Linked DNA regions of Homo sapiens: region 1 is linked to region 2. The links are contacts of gene promoters, found by promoter capture Hi-C in human tissues and cell types (Jung and others, 2019). All regions are on one chromosome and are shown on one strand. The core of a region is centred on a gene start or on the middle of the fragment in contact, and the rest is flanking DNA. Distances in the headings are between cores, read along the strand shown. Region 1 overlaps SPINT2 (serine peptidase inhibitor, Kunitz type 2). Region 2 holds the start of LGALS4 (galectin 4).

Evidence for each region. The method cuts DNA at HindIII sites, captures the fragments that hold promoters and counts their contacts. A contact is called where the count stands out against the background at its distance.
Region 1: a fragment that was not itself captured here is called in contact with the fragment with the promoter of LGALS4 in region 2 in 1 of the 25 tissues and cell types used here (pancreas).

Annotation. Positions count from the first base shown.
Region 1 is chr19:38,268,398-38,272,246 of GRCh38, reverse strand. All of the region lies in intron 1 of SPINT2 (serine peptidase inhibitor, Kunitz type 2), which reads right to left. Among named protein-coding and RNA genes, the nearest start is that of SPINT2, 5.7 kb to the right of the region's middle. The HindIII fragment of the contact is 5,415 bases long and covers 1-3,849 here.
Region 2 is chr19:38,811,695-38,815,625 of GRCh38, reverse strand. It overlaps LGALS4 (galectin 4), which reads left to right and starts at 2,681. Exons shown (of 10, transcript NM_006149.4): 1 at 2,681-2,784; 2 at 3,107-3,195. The coding sequence starts at 2,740. It overlaps ECH1 (enoyl-CoA hydratase 1), which reads left to right. Exons shown (of 10, transcript NM_001398.3): 10 at 1-204. The coding sequence ends at 13. The HindIII fragment of the contact is 29,723 bases long and covers 1-3,931 here.

The DNA of each region.
Region 1 (3,849 bases), core at 476-2,975, 540 kb after region 2:
GACCCTGGCATACACATGGACAAACTATCACATATAAAATTGTTTTGAGATGGGGTCTCGCTCTGTCGCCCAGGCTGGAGTGCAATGGTGCGATCTCGGCTCACTGCAACCTCCACTTCCTGGGCTCAAGCAATTCTCCCACCTCAGCCTCCCACATAGCTGGGACTACAGGCTGACTAGTTTTTTGTATTTTTTGTTTCACCATGTTGAAACTCCTCAGTCAAGCAATCCACCTGCCTCAGCCCCCCAAAGTGCTGGGATTACAAGCGTGAGCCATTGTGCCCAGCAGTATCACATAAAAGTGAAGGACTTCAGATTAAGGGACTTCTGAGGCCATGGACCCTGGGCCCAGTCAGGAATCACCCTGAGCTCCATCTCCAACACGTGTGAGTAAAACAACATGTGAATTCTTGCCCTCTTTTTTTTCTGAGATGGAGTCTCACTCTGTCTCCCAGGCTGGACTGCAGTGGCGTGATCTCGGCTCACTGCAACCTCCACCCTCCGAGTTCAAGCGATTCTCCTGCCTCAGCCTCCAGGCGCCTGCCACTGCACCCGGCTAATTTTTTTTTGTATTTTTAGTAGAGATGGGGTTTCAACATCTTGGCCAGGCTGGTCTTGAACTCCTGATCTCGTGATCCACCCACCTCGGCCTCCCAAAGTGCTGGGATTACAGGCATGAGCCACTGTACCCGGCCAAACATGTGGTGGTCTCTTGTAAGTGGCTCCTCTCACTTAGCATAACATTTTTTTTTTTTTTGAGAGAGTCTTGCTCTGTTGCCCAGGCTGGAGTGCAGTGGCATGATCTCAGCTCACTGCAAGCTCCACTTCCTGGGTTCACGCCATTCTCCTGCCTTAGCCTCCCAGATAGCTGGGACTATAGGCGCCCGCCACCACGCGAGGCTAATTTTTTTGTATTTTTAGTAGAAACGGGTTTTCACCGTGTTAGCCAGGATGGTCTCGATCTCCTGATCTCGTGACCCGCCTGCCTCGGCCTCCCAAAGTGCTGGGGTTACAGGCATGAGCCACCGCGCCCGGCCTCGCCCTCATTTCTAAAATGGCTTCTAATCATAAAAAGCATATTTCAAATAAACTTCAAAATAAGTAAACTCTAGCTCCTACTTCACCTGCCAAGGAAAATAAAACAACAAAAAAAGGTAAATAAACTCCAAAGTTCCTGGGCCTCAGCATCAACATCAGCACTTCTTTACAGGGAGTTTTCAAAAAGATGTTGCCAGAAAAAAACCATGAAATGACACTTGTGAGGAGGATCTTGCAGGACATCGGAATCCACACTCTAATGTCCACATTAGTCATGGCCGGTGGGCCAAGGCCTCCTGGGGCTAATGGAGTCATTTCAGTGTGACTCCTGCTGGGCTCTCTCCCGCCTCACATGAGCCACAGGCTTATCACCCCTTATTCAGCCTCCCCTGTAGCCTCCAGACATGGCAAACAGAAGCTCTGCATGCATTCTGCAAATGGCTGGGGATGGGTAAAATGAGAAACAGGGTGGGGAGCAGGGTGAAAGAGGAGAAGTGTGATTTCTCCATTGCAGGCTGAGCTCTCAAATACTGACTGGGCAAAGCAATGTTTCCAGTGGAAAGGGGCCAGTCTCCCGCGGTGACCTGAAGGCAAGGCCCTCAACCTTCTTTAGGAACTGCAACCATTTGAACCTCAGAAGCCCCCATTTTCAGTGCTAAGCACACCAACCCTGACACTCATCACCAGACATACATTCATCTGTTCATTTATTGTACTGTCTTCCTCTCATTATGACACGTCTGCCACGGATGGGGGAGGGGGTCTATTTTGTTCAGTGCTCTAATTTGAGTGAGTCAGTGCCTGGCAATTGGTGGGTGCTCAATAAACATTTGCTGACTATATCAGTGAATAAGATTTCGAACTACCCTGGAACCAAACTGCCTTGCCTGCAAGTAGGACAAGCACTCCTTCTATGGAGGATAAGAATAATGTGAGAAGCTGTTTTAGAGAATTCCCAGCTGATCGCCAACACCAGCTTTACTTTAGCTCTTCTGTCATCTTATCTCTGACCACCAGGGTCACGACTATCCATGGGGGTGAGGAGGAAAGTAAAGAAAGGGTGGCAACTAATAACACGTCTGTGGAGTCTGCTGGAAAGCTTACAGCAGTTAAGGTTCTACAGACACTATAATTAACCTGAGAGGTCCATGCATTTCGAAAATCCCTTGGAAGTGCAGGAGAGGGCTGGGCCACGTGGCTCGAGCCTGTAATCCCAGCACTTTGAGAGGCTGAGGTGGGCAGATCACCTGAGGTCGGGAGTTCGAGACCAGCCTGGCCCACATGTTGAAATCCCATCTCAGGCCGGGCGCGGTGGCTCACGCCTGTAATCCCAGCACTTTGGGAGGCCGAGGCGGGCAGATCACAAGGTCAGGAGATCAAGACCATCCTGGCTAACACGGTGAAACCCCGTCTCTACTAAAAATACAAAAAATTAGCCGGGCGTGGCGGCAGGTGCCTGTAGTCCCAGTACTCGGGAGGCTGAGGCAGGAGAATGGTGTGAACCCAGGAGGCGGAGCTTGCAGTGAGCCGAGAACGCGCCACTGCACTCCGGCCTGGGCGACAGAGCGAGACACTCCGTCTCAAAAAAAAAAAAAAAAAAAGAAAAGAAATCCCATCTCAACTAAAAATACAAAAATTAGCTGGGTGTGGTGGTGCACACCTGTAACCCCAGCTACTCAGGCGGATGAGGCAGGAGAATCACTTGAACCCAGGAGGCAGAGGCTGCAATGAGCCAAGATGGCGCCACTGCACTCCAGTCTGAGTGACACAGCAAGACTCTGTCTCAAAAAAAAAAAAAAAAAAAAAAAGGTGCAGGAGAGGTTCTCAAATAAGTGTTGCCCTGCTTGCCTCCAGTGGAAATTCCCAAGAAGAATCAACAAAGGACCTTGAACCATCCTGGCTAACACGGTGGTGAGACCCTGTCTCTACTAAAAATACAAAAAATTAGCCGGGCGTGGTGGCGGGCGCCTGTAGTCCCAGCTACTCAGGAGGCTGAAGCAGGAGAATGATGTGAACCCGGGAGGTGGAGATTGCAGTGAGCTGAGATCGCGCTACTGCACTCCAGACTGGGCGATGAGAGAGACTCCGTCTCAAAAAAAAACCCAAAAAAACAAAAACAAACAAAAACAAAAACAAAAGACCTTAAGCCAAGTAACCATTAACACAAGTTCTGATGCCCAGGGCCAGGCACAAAGTTATTGGCAGCAAGAACTACACCTAACTGGCCACTCCTAAAGGACCTTTCAAGTTTCTATTCTGCTGAGGAAATATATGATCTGGCCTGGTGTTGAGCAACATTACACATTTCAGGACCCTCCAAATACCAGGATTTACCACCTGGGTGGGGAAAAGGAAAAGAAAAAAATCCTGCATATCTGCAGCTACCTGATATAAGGATTTCCCCAACAGCCAGCCGTAACACACACACACACACACACACACGCGCGCGCGCATGCTCTCTCTCTGTCTCACACTGTAATGTGCAATTTATAAAGAACTGTTACGTGTTACCATTTACTAAATGGAGCATATGTTTAAGGTAGGGGTCACAAGCCAAAGGCCTACAGAGACAGAGGGCAAGCAGTAGCTGAGATGAGGCAAGCTGAGTAAGATCTACAGGCTAGGGAATGGCATATCTCCTGCCTGAAAGAGGTACTCGGCTCCTGCCAGGGACTGCTGGGCAGGAAAACAGGCCTGTGTTCTGGTTTGGTTCCATTACATCTTCATGTCTTTCAGGCAAAGCCAAAAACTACATTTTTACGTTTAAAAAATCCCAATTCTGGAAAAAGTACAAGTCACATAAAGGCTGTG
Region 2 (3,931 bases), core at 1,432-3,931:
CTCCAAGCTCTGAGAGCCCTCGCGTCCCAGGCCCCAGCCAGGGGGCCGGCCTTGTCCCGCCTCATCCACAGAAAGGGAGGATGGGCGATGACAGTTGTTTCTATGCCTTCTGACCCAGTTTCCCAGTTTATAACTTTATGACAATGAGTTTCTCAAGCCCAAGGCCTTATCTTCACCCCACAAACAATAAAGCAAAGTAAAGAACCTGGTGCCCTTCTTGGATAGAGGAGAGGTGGGAGGGGCTGGGATGCACCTAGGGGCTCCAGAGACTGCAGTCCTGAAGGCTGGGGCTAGAGGTTGGATGCATGGGAATGGGTGGCATGGAGGTGATGGCCATTCAGACTGGCAGCGGGCAGGCGAGGGGCACAAGGAATTCCGGGGCGGAGGGAGTGAGCAAAAGTCGCTGGGGTCCCTCTGGGTTGCAAGGCTTCCTGGTCTCCCTGCCTGCCCTGGGGTTGAGGGTGGCGTTCGTGCCCTGCCTGGCACCTCTCACTGCACAGCACATGGGATCTGATGCTGGCGTCTCACACCTGTAATCCCAGCACTTTTGGAGGCTGACGCAGGTGGATTGCCTGAGCTCAGGAGTTTGCAACCAGCCTAGTCAACATGTTGAAACCCAGTCTCTACTAAAAATACAAAAATTAGCTAGGTGTGGTGGCAGGTGCCTCTAGTCCCAGCTACTCGGGAGGCTGAGGCAGGAGAATCCTTGAACCCAGGAGGTGAGTTTGCAGTGAGCTGAGATCATGCTGCTGCAGTCCAGCCTGGGTGACAGAGTGAGACTCTGTCTCAAAAAAAGAAAAAACAAAACAAAAAAGGACTTTGGGGTTTCTGGCCGGGTGCAGTGGCTCATGCCTGTAATTCCAGCACTTTGGGAGGTTGAGGCAGGTGGATCACTTGAGGTCAGGAGTTTGAGACCAGCCTGGCCAACATGGCAAAACCTGGTCTCTACTAAAAATACAAAAATTAGCCAGGCGTGGAGTAAGCCTGTAATCCCAGCTATTCAGAAGGCTGAGGCAGGAGAATCCCTTGAACCTGGGAGGTGGAGGTTGCAGTGAGCTGAGATGGTGCCACTGCACTGCAGCCTGGGTGATAGAGCAAGACTCTGTCTCAAAAATGAGCAAACAAAACTTTGGGATTTTTTATCCATATATCATCCCAATCTTCCGGATTTATGTTTGGAATGACTGCAAGAGACCAAGCATTAAGTTAATGACTTCTATATGCTATGTCCTGTTCTGAGCATTTATTATCTTAATGATCAAGGACTCTATGAAGTTGATACTATTATGATTATTATTATTATGACTATTATTGTTGCTATTTTTAGAGACGGACTCTTAGTCTGTCACCCAGGCTGGAGTGCAGTGGCATGATCATAGCTCACTGTAACCTTAACTCCTGGGTTCAAGCGATCCTCCTGCCTCAGCCTCTGAGTAGCTAGGAATACAGATGTGTGCTACCATGCCCAGCTAATTTTTATTTTATTTTTGTAGAGATGGGGGTCTCACTATGTTGCCCAGGCTGGTCTTGAACTCCTGGGCTCAAGCAGTCCTCCTGCTTCAGCTTCCCAAATTGCTGGGATTGTAGGCACAAGCCACCACACCCAGCCTAAGGTTGATACTACTCTTTTCTTTATTTATTTATTTTTCTGAGTGGCAGTTGGACCCACAGCTAGAACTTATTTGGCAGATTAATAACATACAGGCATTACTGGATCACAAATTCATTTTTAAAATATTTTGATAGCTATTCAATACTTGTTTCCTCTCTTATGAATTCCTTTTTTTTTTTTTTTTTTTTTGAAACAGAGTCTCCATCTGTCATCCAAGCTGGAGTGCAGTGGCGTGACCTTGGCTCACTGCACTCTCCTCCACTCAGGTTCAAGTGATTCTCCTGCCTCAGCCTCCAAGTAGATGGGATTATAGGCACCCACCACCATGCCTGGCTAATTTTTGTATTTTTAGTAGAGACTGGGATTTTGCCAGGCTGGTCTCGAACTCCTGCCCTCAGGTGATCCATCCACCTCGGCCAGTCAAAGTGCTGGGATTACAGGCATGAGCCACTGCACCCAGCCGATACTACTATATCCCCATTTTACAGATGAGCACATGGGCAAATTGAGGGTAAGGCACTGACCCATGATCATACAGCTGAGAAGTGGCAAAGGCAGGATTTGAACCTAGAACCTCTGGCTCCACACACTAGTAATCTAAACCACTCTCCCTACAATACAACATACGTGGTAAAGATGTGTGGTGGGCACGCAATCAACGTAGGTCCCTTCACAGTTGCTGGGAGAGGCAGGAATTTGCAGTTCCTCCGCGTTCTCCTCCTCCGCTGCCCACCTGTCCTGGGTCATTCCTGCAGCCTGCCCTGCCCTGCCTGGTCTCACCCTCCCTCTGCCAACAGAAGTCTGGGCAGGGTTTTATGGGCTCTGATAAGGCCCTGGCAGGGCCGAAGTTCATGAGCACTTCCTCTTTGCAGGAGGGCGTAGGGGAGGGGACCCAGGTGATTTGGGTCCTGGCTGGTCACCAGGGAAGCTGGCAAGGGAAGGGAGACTAGGGTGCGCTCTAGGAGAAGCCGACAGCCTGAGAGTCCCAGAAGAGGAGCCCTGTGGACCCTCCCCTGCCAGCCACTCCCTTACCCTGGGTATAAGAGCCACCACCGCCTGCCATCCGCCACCATCTCCCACTCCTGCAGCTCTTCTCACAGGACCAGCCACTAGCGCAGCCTCGAGCGATGGCCTATGTCCCCGCACCGGGCTACCAGCCCACCTACAACCCGGTGAGATGCCAGCTCAGGCCCCACTCCGCCCGCAGCTCCGTCCATAAGCCCTCACACCAATTTTCCCCACTCTGATCCTGGGGGGCCCCATCTGACTCTGTGGTCTGATTTACCCAAAGCTGACCCCGACCCTCGATTTACTCCTACCCTGACCTCAGGCTGTCTGTGTCCACGTCTAACTGTTGGCCCTCGTCATCTTCAACCTGGTCCTCCCCCATGGTTTCCTCTCTCCTGCTTAAGGGACTGGGGGGCTTTTCTGGGAGGGGTAAAGGCTGCAACAGGCAGATGGCTTGTGAGTCCCCTCACCAGGCCTCTTCTCCAGACGCTGCCTTACTACCAGCCCATCCCGGGCGGGCTCAACGTGGGAATGTCTGTTTACATCCAAGGAGTGGCCAGCGAGCACATGAAGCGGTAAGACCCTCCCCAAGCCAGGCCGGGCTGGCAGGGGACTTCCAACTGGGTGCTCTGGGCCTGGCTGTTGGGGGCTTTCTGCCCTTACCCCACCCTGGTGGAGAGGGGACTCTTTTTCTGCCCCACCCAATAGCCAGAGATGAATCTGGGGCAGATCAGGAGTGGGGACGTGGGGGCCAGAAGGTTCAGGGAGGGCTCACCGTGAGAGGCAGTCCCTGAGTTGGACATTAGACTGAAGCTGATGGGTGCAATGGCAGGAATTCAGATCACAGGCTCAGAGCCGGGTCCCCGAGTTAAAATCCCAGCTCTGCCACTCCCCAGCTCTGTGTTGGTGAAAGAGTGAAAGTGACTATACCTCTCTGTGCTTCATTTTCTTTTCTTTTCTGTTTTTGTTTTTTTTGTTTTTTTTTTTGTTTTGAGATGGAGTTTTGCTCTTGTCGCCCAGGCTGGAGTGCAATGGCATGATCTTGGCTCACTGCAACCTCTGTCTCCCAGGTTCAAGCGATTCTCCTGCCTCAGCCTCTTGAGTAGCTGGGATTACAGGCATGTGCCAGCACACTGGCTAATTTTTGTATTTTTAGTAGAGATGGGGTTTCACCATGTTGGTCAGGCTGGTCTCGAACTCCTGACCTCAAGTGATCCTCCCATCTCGGCCTCCCAAAGTGCTGGGATTACAGGCGTGAGCCACTGCGCCTGGCCCAGTCTTAGCTTTTTAAAAAGGGCCTTAACACGTTGA